Linked DNA regions of Homo sapiens: all the other regions are linked to region 3. The links are contacts of gene promoters, found by promoter capture Hi-C in human tissues and cell types (Jung and others, 2019). All regions are on one chromosome and are shown on one strand. The core of a region is centred on a gene start or on the middle of the fragment in contact, and the rest is flanking DNA. Distances in the headings are between cores, read along the strand shown. Region 1 has its middle 30 kb from the start of CCZ1B. Region 2 has its middle 8.4 kb from the start of DAGLB. Region 3 holds the start of ZNF853 (zinc finger protein 853).

Evidence for each region. Contacts are between HindIII fragments. The study calls those that stand out against the background at their distance.
Region 1: a contact is called between a fragment that was not itself captured here and the fragment with the promoter of ZNF853 in region 3, in 1 of the 25 tissues and cell types used here (dorsolateral prefrontal cortex).
Region 2: a fragment that was not itself captured here is called in contact with the fragment with the promoter of ZNF853 in region 3 in 1 of the 25 tissues and cell types used here (aorta).

The regions. Positions count from the first base shown.
Region 1 is chr7:6,854,597-6,858,671 of GRCh38, forward strand. It overlaps the pseudogene UNC93B2. Among named protein-coding and RNA genes, the nearest start is that of CCZ1B, 30 kb to the left of the region's middle. The HindIII fragment of the contact is 9,684 bases long and covers 1-4,075 here.
Region 2 is chr7:6,454,207-6,458,411 of GRCh38, forward strand. No RefSeq gene overlaps it. Among named protein-coding and RNA genes, the nearest start is that of DAGLB, 8.4 kb to the left of the region's middle. The HindIII fragment of the contact is 6,615 bases long and covers 1-4,205 here.
Region 3 is chr7:6,614,103-6,618,517 of GRCh38, forward strand. ZNF853 (zinc finger protein 853) reads left to right here and starts at 1,508. Exons shown (of 3, transcript NM_017560.3): 1 at 1,508-2,084; 2 at 3,088-3,205. The coding sequence starts at 2,073. RefSeq lists enhancers at 1-391, 392-1,145. The HindIII fragment of the contact is 23,550 bases long and covers 1-4,415 here.

The sequences.
Region 1 (4,075 bases), core at 642-3,141, 240 kb after region 3:
CAAGGCCCCTACTGGGCACAGGGTGACCCCACCGTGGCTCGGAAGTGGACCCTGTCCGACGCGGGGGTGGTCGCTGGAGGGCCGAGGATGCCTACACAGGCCCCTGGAGGGTGTGCCTTCGGAGTCTGTCTCGCCCTCTGGACCCATGGGGGACCAGCAACGCCGTCACACCCTCCTCTGTCTCTGCCAGCCGCTCCCCCGCTCCCTTCTCCTGGCTGAGGCTGGCAAAGGCAGGCAGGCATGGGGGGGCGGGGCCTCAGGAGGGAGGAGGGGCTGGTGGGCGGGGCCTACGGACACCTCGCCCCGCCCCCAGTGGGGCTCCGCACTCCCCACACCCCGCGGTCCCCCTAGGTCAGGGCCTCTCACCACCGCGCCCAGAGGCCGGGCCAGCCGGGCGTGCATCCCAGGGGCGCTCCGTCCCCCGCGGCCTGGGACTCTCCAGTCAGGACAGTACAAAATCTCTTTATCGCTCATTTTCTGTAAAAAATCGTGGCTCTCGGCGGACCCTGGAGATAGGAGGTGCAAAGGGCGCTCACACGCGGCCCGGGTCCGCGGCCGAGAGCTGGGGGGATCTGGAGCGGGGCCGGGTCGCAAGAAGACCCTGACCCTGCTCCGGCGCTGGGGCGCGTGCTAAGGGCCCGCGGGGTATCAGCTGTATTTTCGAACCCCTGTGCTTGGCCGGGGAGTTCCCAAGGCTCCACTCCGCCTTGGAGGGGGCTGCGGAAGCCCGGAGGTGACCCGGGCTCTGGGAGGGGCGTCCCCAACGTGGGGGAAGGGAGACAGGGGCCTTCGAAGACAGCGCGAGACTCGGAGGGGGTCCCCCCGACCTAAGACGTGGTAAACTGAGGCCGGCGAGGAGCGAGGCTGAGTCCGGGGACCAGGCGGCCCCTCACTGCTCCTCCGGCCCGTCGCCCCCCTGCGCCTGTTCGTACGGGCAGGGCCGGCGGCCGAGTCCAGCGGGCTCGGGGCCAGGCCTGGGCCCCGGGGGCGGCGCCTCCTCCTCCGCGCCGTCCCCATGCTCGCCCTCCGCGTCGCTCTCGTCCGAGTTGTCCTCCTCCAAGTAGCCGTCACCGCGCACCTTGTGCTGGGGCCGCGGGATGCGGGGCTGGCGCGGGGCCACGCCCCGCCGCAGCTTCTGCTCCATCCGCAGGTAGGAGACCGCGGCCACCACCAGCGTCACCAGCAGCACCGCCAGCTTAGCCTGGGCGTAAGGAGAGGGATGCCAGGGACCCGCGGCCGCCTCGCCCCGCACCTTCTCCGCCTATACCCCTCGCTGAGATAGGCCCTTCCCTCCTCCGGGAGCCTCCCGGGCCACGCGGCCCTCAATTTCTCCAGCCCCTCCACCCACGTTTCCTGGACCGCCTCCTGCAGGCGAGGCTCACATCCAGCACTGTCCCTTACAGTCGCCATGCCCCTGGCGACCTCAGTGTCCCACGCTGTAAGGGGACAATGCAAATCCCTTTGCCTCTTAGGGTGCATGCGCCAGTGTTGATAAAGTGCTGGCCACAGGCCCTGCCTTCCCAGGGCTCACAACACTGTGTCCCTGACACACCCGTGGGCTGTAGTGATGCTTTTCATGGGGTTTTGACTATAACCCGCAGTCAGGAATGATTTCACACCATAGCTCAGTACACACACACATATCTGTATGCATACTTCCTGCTCTTTTCTTTTTTCCAGACACGGTTGCTCCGTTTCCCCACCGCGCCCCCTCCCTCCCTTCCCCCACCCACTGCTGGAGCGCAGTGCCATGCTCACTTCAGCCTCAATCTTCCAGGCTCAAGCCATCCTCCCACCTCAGTCTCACAAGCAGCTGGAACTACAGGCACGCGCCACCACGCCCAGCTAATTTTTAAATTTCTTGTAGAGACAGGGTCTCCTATGTTGCCCAGGCTGGTCTTGAACTTCTGGCCTCAAGCAATCCTCCTGCCTCAGCCTCCCAAAGTGTTGGGATTACAGGGGTGAGCCACCATGCCCAGCCCACTCACTGCTTTTCTTTTTTCTTTTTTTTTCTTTTTTCTTTGGGAGACAGAGTCTCGCTCTGTCCTCCAGGCTGAAGTGCGGTGGCGCGATCTTGGCTCACTGCAATCTCCATCTTCCAGGTTCAAGCCATTCTTGTGCCTCAGCCTCCAGAGTAGCTGGGATCACAGGGATGCGCCACCATGCCCAGCTAATTTTTGTTTTTAGTAGAGACAGGGTTTTACAGCCTGTTACCCAGGCTGGTCTCGAACTCCAGACCTCAGGTGATACCCCCACCTCAGCGTCTCAAAATGCTGGGATTACAGGCATGAGCCACTGCTCCCGGCCCACTCCCTAGTATTTTTAGTTCTATTTTTATTTTTATTTTTTTTTTTGAGACGCAGTTTCGCTCTTGTTGTTTAGGCTGGATGGAGTGCCAAGGCCCCGTCTCGGCTAACTGCAACATCCGCCTCCCAGTTCAAGCGATTCTCCTGCCTCAGCCTCCCGAGTAGCTGTGGTTAGAGGCACCTGCCATCATGCCCGGCTAATTTTTGTATTTTTAGTAGAGACGAGGTTTCACCATGTCGGTCAGGCTGGTCTCAAACTCCCTACCTCAGGCAATCCACTCGCCTCGGCCTCGCAAAGTGCTGGGATTACAGGCGTGAGCCACTGCACCCGGCCTTTAGTTCTATTTTTAAAAAATGTTTAGCAACTGGGACTTCCTAGACCGAGCCACCATCTTTTGGGAGCAGAACATGAGGAGCCTGCTCCCCTTCAGGCCATGAAGGGAGACAGACCCAACATCTGGAGAACAGGGTACCAAACAACCCACAGGATGGCTGTGATGCACCCACAAATCCCCTCAGAGATGGGCAAACTGAGACTGGCTGGAGGTGGGCCAGTAAGTGGGGTGCTGAGTTGGGGGCCACCCAGTGGGCTGCAGGAATGGGGCCTTGGCCCAGAGACTGGCTAGGGAAGGGGTGGCGTTTAGGAAGCTGTGAAGCCAGGGCAGGGGCTAAGGAAGTACCTGTCATTGGGCATGGGGCCCCCAACCCTGCCCAGTCTCACCTTCATGTGCAGGCTGGAGCCCAGGTACACGGTGAAGATGGCCACAGCCTGCCACCAGTGGTAGATGGTGAAGATGAAGTCCTGTCTCTCCTTGTCTTCGTACAAGATTCCCAGGAGTGCTGCAAGCAGGCAGTACAGGGCAGGCAGGGGAGAGGTGTCACCTGGGGCCTGGGGCTGCCGAGCTACCATCTATGAACTTTACTAAGCCCTGTATGTGTCCCAGCCCGGGACCAGAAAGCGCCTAGAAAGTGCTGTGAGCCGGTCCTGGCCTGCCCCCTGGTGGAGACCCTGGTCACCACACTGCTCACACGCTAAGCAGAAGTAGGAGCAGGTTCGCCAGGCTGTGTGGATGCAGGTGGTCCCGCTCCACACCACATGCGTGGCCTCAAAAGAAGAAAGCTCTGTGCTTAGTCATGTTCTGTCCCCAACCCCAGGTGTGCAGTGCCAAGCTTGCAGGCGCTGTTTCTCCTCCTCAGCCGGGACTAGAGAGATCCAACTGTTTGCAGCTGCCAACTCTGCAAATCAAACCTGAAGCTAAGCATGGAGAGGGGGGCTTCCTTTCCGGTGAGTCCTCCCAGGGTGGGCAACAAGAGTAATGGATTGGGAGTCAGAAGATGCACACTCGTTCTCAGGACTGTAACGTTGGTTCTGTGGGTGATTTGGGTACTTAACTCCCCAGAGCTGCTTTTCCCAATGGTGAGATGAGCCTATGCCTATAGTGTGCTGTGTTCTGAAGTTCTAAAGTGAGAAAGTGGGCATGGCACCTGCCAAATCATAGGGGCCACTATTAACACCTTCACCAGGCACTCAGGACATGAACACTCCTGTCTTGGGGCCCTGCAGGGTGACTTTACCCCCACAGTGCTGCTATGAAGAGACAAGGATCCCCCAGGGTTCACCTGTGGAGATGGGATATGGAGCTGGGCAGAGGGGATGCCATGACCAGACAGGGCACAACATGGGTCCAAGATACCCAGGTTGGACTCGGCCCAGAATTGGCTATCCTTGGGCAAAACGGCCAAGAGACTGTGGTGCAGTATGAGGCTCC
Region 2 (4,205 bases), core at 1,446-3,945, 160 kb before region 3:
AAATCATAGAACATGGCCGGGCTCAGTAGCTCACTTCTGTGATCCCAGCATTTTGGGAGGCCGAGGCAGGTAGATCACTTGAAGTCGGGAGTTTGAGACCAGCCTGAGCAACATGGTGATACTAAAAATATAAAAATTAGCCAGGCGTGCTGCCATGCACCTGTAATCCCAGGTACTTGGGAGGCTGAGGCAGGAAAATCCCTTGAACCCAGGAGGTAGAGGTTGCAGTGAGCCGAGATTGCAGTTGCACTCCAGCCTGGGTGACAGAGAGAGACTCTGTCTCAAAAAAAAAAAAAAAAAAAAAATCACTCAACTTGAAGGTGGTTTGGGGGATCTCCAACACAACATTCTTTGAATCAGTAAAATGTACAATAAATGTATGTGTATGGGCCGGGCACGGTGGCTCACGCCTGTAATCCCAGCAATTTGGGAGGCCGAGGCGGATAGGGCACAAGGTCAAAAGATCCAGACCATCCCGGCCAACATGGTGAAACCCCGTCTCTACTAAAAATACAAAAATTAGCTGGGCGTGGTGGTGCGCACCCGTAGTCCCAGCTACTCAGGAGGCTGAGGCAGGGAGGTCGCTGACCCTGGGAGGCAGAGGTTGCAGTGAGCCGAGATCGCGCCCTGCACTCCAGCCTGGCGACAGACTGAGACTCCAACTCAAAAAAAAAAAAAAAGTATGTATATATGTGCATATATTAGTTTTTTTGATGGGTTAGTTACTAAATACCACCACAGCACGCACTACTATATACTCTAAAAGCGTGGCTGTTGCTGGTGAGTTTTAAGCCTTTAGTTATAAAAGTGGGCCAGGCTGAGCATGGTGACTCACACCTGTAATCCCAGCATTTTGGGAGGCTGAGGCGGGAGGATCACTTGAGCCCGGGAGTTGGAGACCAGCCTGGGTAACATAGTGAGACCTCCGTCTCTACAAGAAATTTAAGAATTGGCCAGGTGTCTTGGCATGGGCCTGTAGTCCTAAGTACTCAGAAGGCTGTGGTGGGAGGATTGCTTGAGCCCAGGAGTTAAAGGAGTTAAAGACTGCAGTGAGCTATGATGGCACCACTGCCCCCTAGCCTGGGCAACAGAGAGAGACCCTCCCTCCAAAAAAAAAAAAAAAAAAAAAAAAGAAGGAAAGAAAGAAAAAAAGTGATAATCTGCTTCTGCTACGTGCAGGCTTTGGATGTGCTTCAAATTGACAAACCATAAAAAATATGTTTTTGGTTTTTTTTTTTTTTTTTTGCTGGACACCATTGATCAGAGATAAAAAGATGTTTTTGAGACAGGAAAATTTGAACATAGACTGTTAGATGATATTTAAGAATTACTAGCCAGGGACGGTGGCTCACGCCTGTAATCCCAGCACTTTGGGAGGCCGAGGCGGGCAGATCACGAGGTCAGGAGATCAAGACAACCCTGGCTAGCACGGTGAAACCCCATCTCTACTAAAAAAAATAGAAAAAATTAGCCGGGCTTGCTGGGGGGGCGCCTGTAGTCCCAGCTACTCGGGAGGCTGATGCAGAAGAATGGCGTGAACCCGGGAGGCGGAGCTTGCAGTGAGCCGAGATGTGCCACTGCACTCCAGCCTGGGCGACAGAGCGAGACTGCATCTCAAAAAAAAAGAAGTACTAACTTTGTTGGTGTGATAAAAAGTCTTTATCAACTAGGACTAGAATGTAGTATCTATGGATGAAATATGCCATCTAGGAGTTTCTTTAAAGTACCCAAGACTGGGCCAGGTGCAGTGGCTCACGCCTGTAATCACAGTACTTTGGGAGGCTGAGGCAGGCGGATCATTTGAGGTCAGGAGTTCGAGACCAGCCTGGCCAACATGAGGAAACCCCATCTCTACTAAAAATACAAAAAACTTAGCCAGGCATGGTTTTGGGCACCTGTAATCCCAGCTACTTGGAAGGCTGAGGCACGAGAATCACTTGAACCTGGGAGGCGGAGGTTGCAGTGAGCCGAGATCCCACCACTGCCCTTCAGCCTGGGCGACAGAGCAAGACTCCGTCTGAAAAAAATAAATAAAATAAATAAACTATTTAAAACTTAAGGGTGAGGTAAAACAAGTTCTCTAATTTTATGTATGCATGAAAACAAAGTTTATTTTCAAATGATGCTTGTTCAACTTTGCCTAATCTCTCCGTAATTACATACACACAAACATATCGTGATACGTATGTGTGGCATGCAAATATATAACCAAAACGCTGAGCCACCATTAATTCAGTAGTAGGTTGTGCCTATGATCGTGTGTATATATATATATATATATATATATATATATATATATATACACACACATATATTTATTTATATATTTACATTTATTTATTTATTTATTTTTGGGGGGGCGGGGAGGACGGAGTCTCGTTCTGTTGCCCAGGCTGGAATGCAGTGGTGGATCTCGGCTCACTGCAACCTCTGCCTCCTGGGTTCAAGTGATTCTCTTGCCTCAGCCTCCCGAGTAGGTGGGACTACAGGCGTGTGTCACCATACCCGGCTTATTTTTTGTATTTTTAGTAGAGACAGGTTTTCACTATGTTGGCCAGGCTGGTCTCGAACTCCAGACCTTGTAATCTGCCCGCCTTGGCCTCCCAAAGTGCTGGGATTACAGGCGTGAGCCATTGCTCCTGGCCTCGACTTTTTTTTTTCTTTTTCTTTTTTTAGACAGGGTCTTACTTTGTCATCCACACTGGAACACAGTGGCCCACTCTCAGCTCACTGTAGCCTCGACTTCCCAAGGTTCAAGTGATCCTCCTGCTTCAGTCTCCTAAGTAGCTGGGACTATAGGTGCACAGCACAACACCTGACTAATTTTTGTATTTTTTGTAGAGACGGGTTTTGCCACGTTGCCCAGGCTGGTCAAATTCCTGAGTTCAAGCGATCCACCCACCTCGTCCTCCCAAACCAAAGTGCTAGGATTACAGGCATGAGCTACCATGCCTGCCAAATCCTTTTTTTTTTTTTTTTTTTTTTGAGACAGAGTCTCACTCTGTCACCCAGGCTGGAGTGCAGTGGTGCGATCGCAGCTCACTGCAACTTCTGCCTTCCGGGTTCAAACGATTCTCCGACCTCAGCCTCCCGAGTAGCTGGGATTACAGGCACGCACCACCATACCCAGCTAATTTTTTTTTTTTTGTATTTTTAGTAGAGATGGGGTTTCACCATGTTGGACAGACTGGTCTCAAACTCCTGATCTCTGGTGATCCGTCCGCTTCGGCCTCGCAAAGTGCTGGGATTACAGGCATGAGCCACCATGCCCCACCTCATGCCTGCCAAATTCTTAAAAGTAATAGTTCTTTTAAAAACAGGATTTGTACTTAGCAATAAGATAATGTTTCTACATAAACTTTTGTTAGTATAAGTAAAGGTATTGTGAACTTAATGTTACAAACAATAACAAAACCCTACAAAACAATTTAATTTCAAAGAAATCTCTTTTGGGAAACTGGTAGTATACAAATTTTATTTTATTTTATTTTATTTTTGAGACAGTGTTTCATTCTGTTCTGCAGGCTGGAGTACAGTGGTGTGATCTTGGCTCGCTGCAACCTCCACCTCCCAGGCTCAAGCGATCCTCCCACCTCAGCCACCTGAGTAGCTCAGACTATAGGCACGTGCCACCACATCTGGCTAATTTTTTTGCATTTTTAGTAGAGACTGGGTTTTGCCATGTGGCCCAGGCTAGTCTTGAACTCCTGGCCTCAAGCCTCCCAACGTGCTAGGATTACAGGCATGAGCCACAATTTTTTGCTTCTTTTTCTTTTTCTTTTTTTTTTTCAGACAGAGTCTCCCTCTGTAGCCCAGGCTGGAGTGCAGTGGTGCAATCTCCACTTACTGCAACCTCCATCTCCTGGGTTCAAGCGATTCTCATGCCTCAGCCTCCTGAGTAGCTGGGATTACAGACGTATGCCACCATGCCTGGCTAATTTTTGTATTTTTAGTAGAGACGGGGTTTCACCATGTCCAGTTTCAGGCTGGTCTGGAACTCCTGGCCTCAAGTGATCCACCCACTTCAGCCTCTCAAAGTGTAGGGATTAAAGGTGTGACCCACTGCGCCCAGCCCACAAATTTTTTTAAGAAGTAAAATTTCGGCTGGGCCCGATGGCTCACACCTGTAATCCCAGCACTTTGAGAGGCCGAGGCAGGCGGATCATGAGGTCAGGAGATCGAGACCATCCTGGCTAAAACGGTGA
Region 3 (4,415 bases), core at 258-2,757:
AGCAGTGTGAGCCCAGGGACAGGAGGAAGGGAGGGGGCTGTGAACCCTGAGGGCTCTTGTCCCCCACCAGGGGGGCATTCCTGCTGCACCCCAGGAGCACCTCCCAGATTCAAGCGATTCTCCTGCCTCAGCCTCCAGAGTAGCTGGCGTTACAGGCATGTGCCACCATGCCCGGCCAATTTTGTATCTTTAGTAGAGATGGAGTTTCTCCATGTTGGCCAGGCTGGTCTCCAACTCCAGACCTCAGGTGATCTGCCCGCCTCGGCCTCCCAAAGTGCTGGGATTATAGGCGTGAGCCACCGCGCCCAGCATGTTTGCTTGTTTTTAGATGGAGACAGGGTCTCACTCTATCACCCAGGCTGGGGTGCAGTGGCGCGATCATAGTTCACTGCAGCCTCGACCTCCTCCCGGGCTCAAGTGGTCCACCCACCTTGGCCTCCAAAGTAGTTGGGATTACAGGCTACTTTTCAGTAGCCCAGCTAATTTTTTAAAAACCTCTTTTGTAGAGATGGGGTCTTGCTATGTTGGCTAGGCTGGTCTCAAACTACCAGCCTCAAGTGATCCTCCCGAAATGCTGGGTTTACAGGCGTGAAGTACCATGCCCTGCCCCCAGATCTTTGGTTTTTTCTAAAGAATTTGAGCATCCCAATTTGAATTTGAATTCTCCAGGTTAGAGAGGTTTGTGCACCGAGAACAGGAAAGTTAGGTGGTGCAACATTAAGACGGGGTTAGGGAAGGCCTCCCTTGGAGAAGACCCCTGACCCAGGCAGGAATCCACTTGCCAAGTAGGGAAAGAGGAGAGGAGAGGGTGAGGGAGGTGGGAGGCCTGACCACCAGCCTTGTGGTCAGCGAAAGGCCGCAGGGGCGCTGGGCGGGAGGATTCCAGCTCTGCCAGTTCTCCACGGTGGCCTCATTTGATCTATGCAGGTCACAGTCCCTGATCGGGGGAGGGAGGCACACACTCCCTACTGGCCTGCCCTCCCCAGCCCCGGGGTCTAGGAGGAGGGCTCCACGGTGCGGACCGGGGTGGCCTCTCCAGGGCCCGCTCGGGCCGGGCCCGGATGGCGCCTACTCCCTCTCCGAGTGCCATCGAATTGTGTGCTAATTAGCCACAATTTGCACCGCGGCAGGGGCGCCCCGAGGCCACGCCTGCCCTCTAGGGGGTGGCAGGGATCGGGTTGGGTACCCCCCACCCAGACACCCAGGCAGTGACAGTCGCCAACCCCGTGGCGCGAGGACACGCGCAGCAGGGATGCGGCACAGCGCGCGCTGCGCTCGGCACCGGCCAGCCCGGGACGCCCCAGGGGCCGCCGCATCGTGTCCCCCGGGCCGGGTGAGTGGCCGGGCCGGGAATGGTTAAGCCCACCGAGCTGCGGCTGCCTAGAGCGGCGGCGGCGACGGCGGCGGCGGCGGCGGGGGCCGGGGCGCGGGGGCGCGGCGGGCGGGCAGGGGCGGGGGACAGGATGCGGATGCCGGGGGGACTTCCTGTGCCGGCCCCCGCGCCCCCGCCCCCGGCCCGGCCAGCGGCCCGCACGGACGCACTCCCGGGCGGGCGGGCGAGCCCAGGGGGACCCGGCCTTGCCGCGGCGCCCGCCCCGCCCCCGCCCCGGCCCCCGCGCGGCCCGGCCCAGGCCGCCCGCAGGCTCCGGGCACCTGTAGCCCCCGAGGACCCGCGTCGCCTGGCCGCCGCCGACCCCAGGCGGGGCCACCCCGTGGTGCCGACCCCGGGCGCCGGCCTGGATCCCGCTGCCCGCGATGGTCCCGGGGGGCCGGCCCTGAGCCCCGCGCGGGATTCGGGGCCCTGCCTCCCGCCCCAGCCCCCGCCGGAGAGTCTCCACCAACTTCTGCTCGGCCGCTCCTCTCAGCCCCTTCCCTTGGCCCAGGGCGACCTCGGCAGCCCAGAGGGCGTGGACCCTCCGGAGTGCCCAGAAAGCCCCCGGGGTGGCCCTGCGCCTCCTGGCTCTTTCTGGATGGAGGCGCCTCCGGAAGGAGCCGGCTGCACGCCGTGGCCTTCACCTCGCAGCCTCTGCTGACCACACCTCCCTAGCGCAGAGGCTGCCCGGGAGCAGGAAATGCTCCACCAGGTGAGGCCCAGGGGGTCGTTGGCGCTGGGCAACCGGGGACGCGTCCCTTGAGAGAGTTTGGACTGGATGGCACGAGTCGGCCTGTTTAGGGGAGAGGGGCCAGCTCTGCACGGGCCAGGGTGGACTCTCAGGAGCGCCTGGGCACAGGGCCAGGCCGTGGGTGACAGTGCTCTGGACACCTGCCTTGCCCGGGAGCTGGGGTGGCAGCTGACACACGTGGCCTGCTGGCGGCCTTCTCAGAGCAGGCCAGGAAGGCAATAGAATGGAAGGGCGCCAGGCGCAGTGGCTCACTCCTATAATCCCAACACTTTAGGAGGCCGAGGCAGGAGGATCGCCTGAGGCCAGGAGTTCGAGACCAGCCTTGGGCAACATCATCTACAATATAAAAAAACATAAAAATTAGCTGGGGGTGATGGCACGCACCTGTAGCCCCAGCTACTCAGGAGGCGGAGGCAGGAGAATCGCTTGAACTGGGGAGACGGAGGTTGCAGTGAGTCCAGATCGCACCACTGCACTCCAGCCTGGGTGACAGAGTGAGAATCCGTATCAAGAAAAAAAAAAAAAAGTATTTAATAAAAAAAGAATTGAAGGAGGCAGGGAGGATGTTGATGGACAGTCTCTCTTTGGCCCCAGAGCTCCCCGCCCTGAATGTCCCTTTGGTGACTCTAGCTTTCCTCCCTTGTGAAGGGCTGATACCCACAGTTGTGTCTCTGTGGGGCTACCCCACTCTCCATCCCGCTGTGAAAAGTCAGGAGAGGCAGTCCTGCCTCTATGCAGGTGACAGCCTCTGGTGCTGTCTGCCAACTCCCCAGTCCTGAGCCTCCAGGCCGCCGGCACTCCCCGTTCCCCGTTGCGGGGGACAGTCCTATAGTTGCAGCAGGTATGGAGCTGACCGCTCTGGGTGGCCCGAGGCAGAGGTGGAGGGCCTTTGGGGGCCTGTGGGCACCTGGCGGGGGTCAAAGCACTCCAGCCTGGCTAAACTGCTTCCTTCCTTTCAGCACAGCCGACTCCCGGGAATCGGGGTCTGACCGCCAGGATGGAAGTGGGGCCAGCCACCGAGACCTTCGTGCTGGAACTTCAATGTCTTGAGGATGGGGGCCCAGGGCCTGACACCCTCTCAGGTGAGGGCCTCGGGGGATCCCTTGACAGAGCCTCATGCCTGCCTGCTGTGGCAGAAAGAGGCTCAAGGGTGGCGGGCAGCCTGCACAGACTCACACCAGCCAACCTCAGCTGCATTGAGTAACACCAGCAGCTCTCCCTTGAGATTTTCCAAGGTGGCTGTGTCAGGCAGGCTGAGGCCAGGCTGGTGAGGGGCTCCCCGCTCCCCACATGGGTGCTGACTGGACTTAACACTCACACGCGCTGCTGGCTGGAACTCATTGCTGTGTTTCCTGGCAGCCAGAGGGCCTCCACCATCCTCCCACCTGGCCCCAGCTCCTGAGTCAATTTCCACTCAATTTCCCGGATCCGATTCAGGTACTAATAGGCTCTCTTCCTCTGCCCCTCCTGCCCCAGATGTTGGCTCCCTGGCTTCTTCTCCCCTGTGGCCTCGTAACCTTTTCCACTTTAGCTTGACCTCTGCTTGCATCTGTTTTTCTCTACCTGATGCCCAGGGGCAGATGTGGTACTGCAGAACCTTCCAAGACCTCTTCCTCTGGGACCCACTCTGGGCAAACCTTCTCTGGTGGCCACACTCATGAGAGCCAGTTTCCATTCTGTGCTTTAAGGGTGCTGAGTGAGGGCCTGGGGCAGGGCGGGACAGAGCTTGAAAAGGACCAAGGGAATTGGAGGGGGTGGGATGGGGATGTGTGGAGTCAAGAAGGACCGTTCTGACCGAGCATGATGGCTCATTCCTGTAATCCCAGCACTTTGGGAGGCCGAGGCGGGCAGATCAGTTGAGGCCAGGAGTTTGAGACCAGCCTGGCCAACATGGTGAAACACTGTCTTTACTACAAATACAAAAATGAGCTGGGTGTGGTGGGCACCTGTAATCTCAGCTACTCGGGAGGCTGAGGCAGAAGAATCACTTGAACCCAGGAGGCAGAGGTTGCAGTGAGCCAGGATCATGCCACTGCACTCCAGCCTTGGTGACAGAGTGAGAGTCCGTCTCAAAAAAAAGAAGAAGAGGAAAAGAAGACCCTTCTGACTTGTAAATTTACCTGACAAAACTTTGGGAGGGTATACACGTCAGACAACACTGGACTAGATGTTCACTAAAATGCCTTTGTTAAAAATGCTGAGGTCAGGCACAATGGCTCACACCTGTAATCCCAGCACTTTGGGAAACCGAGGCAGGTGGATCGCTTGAGCTCAGGAGTTCGAGACCAGCCT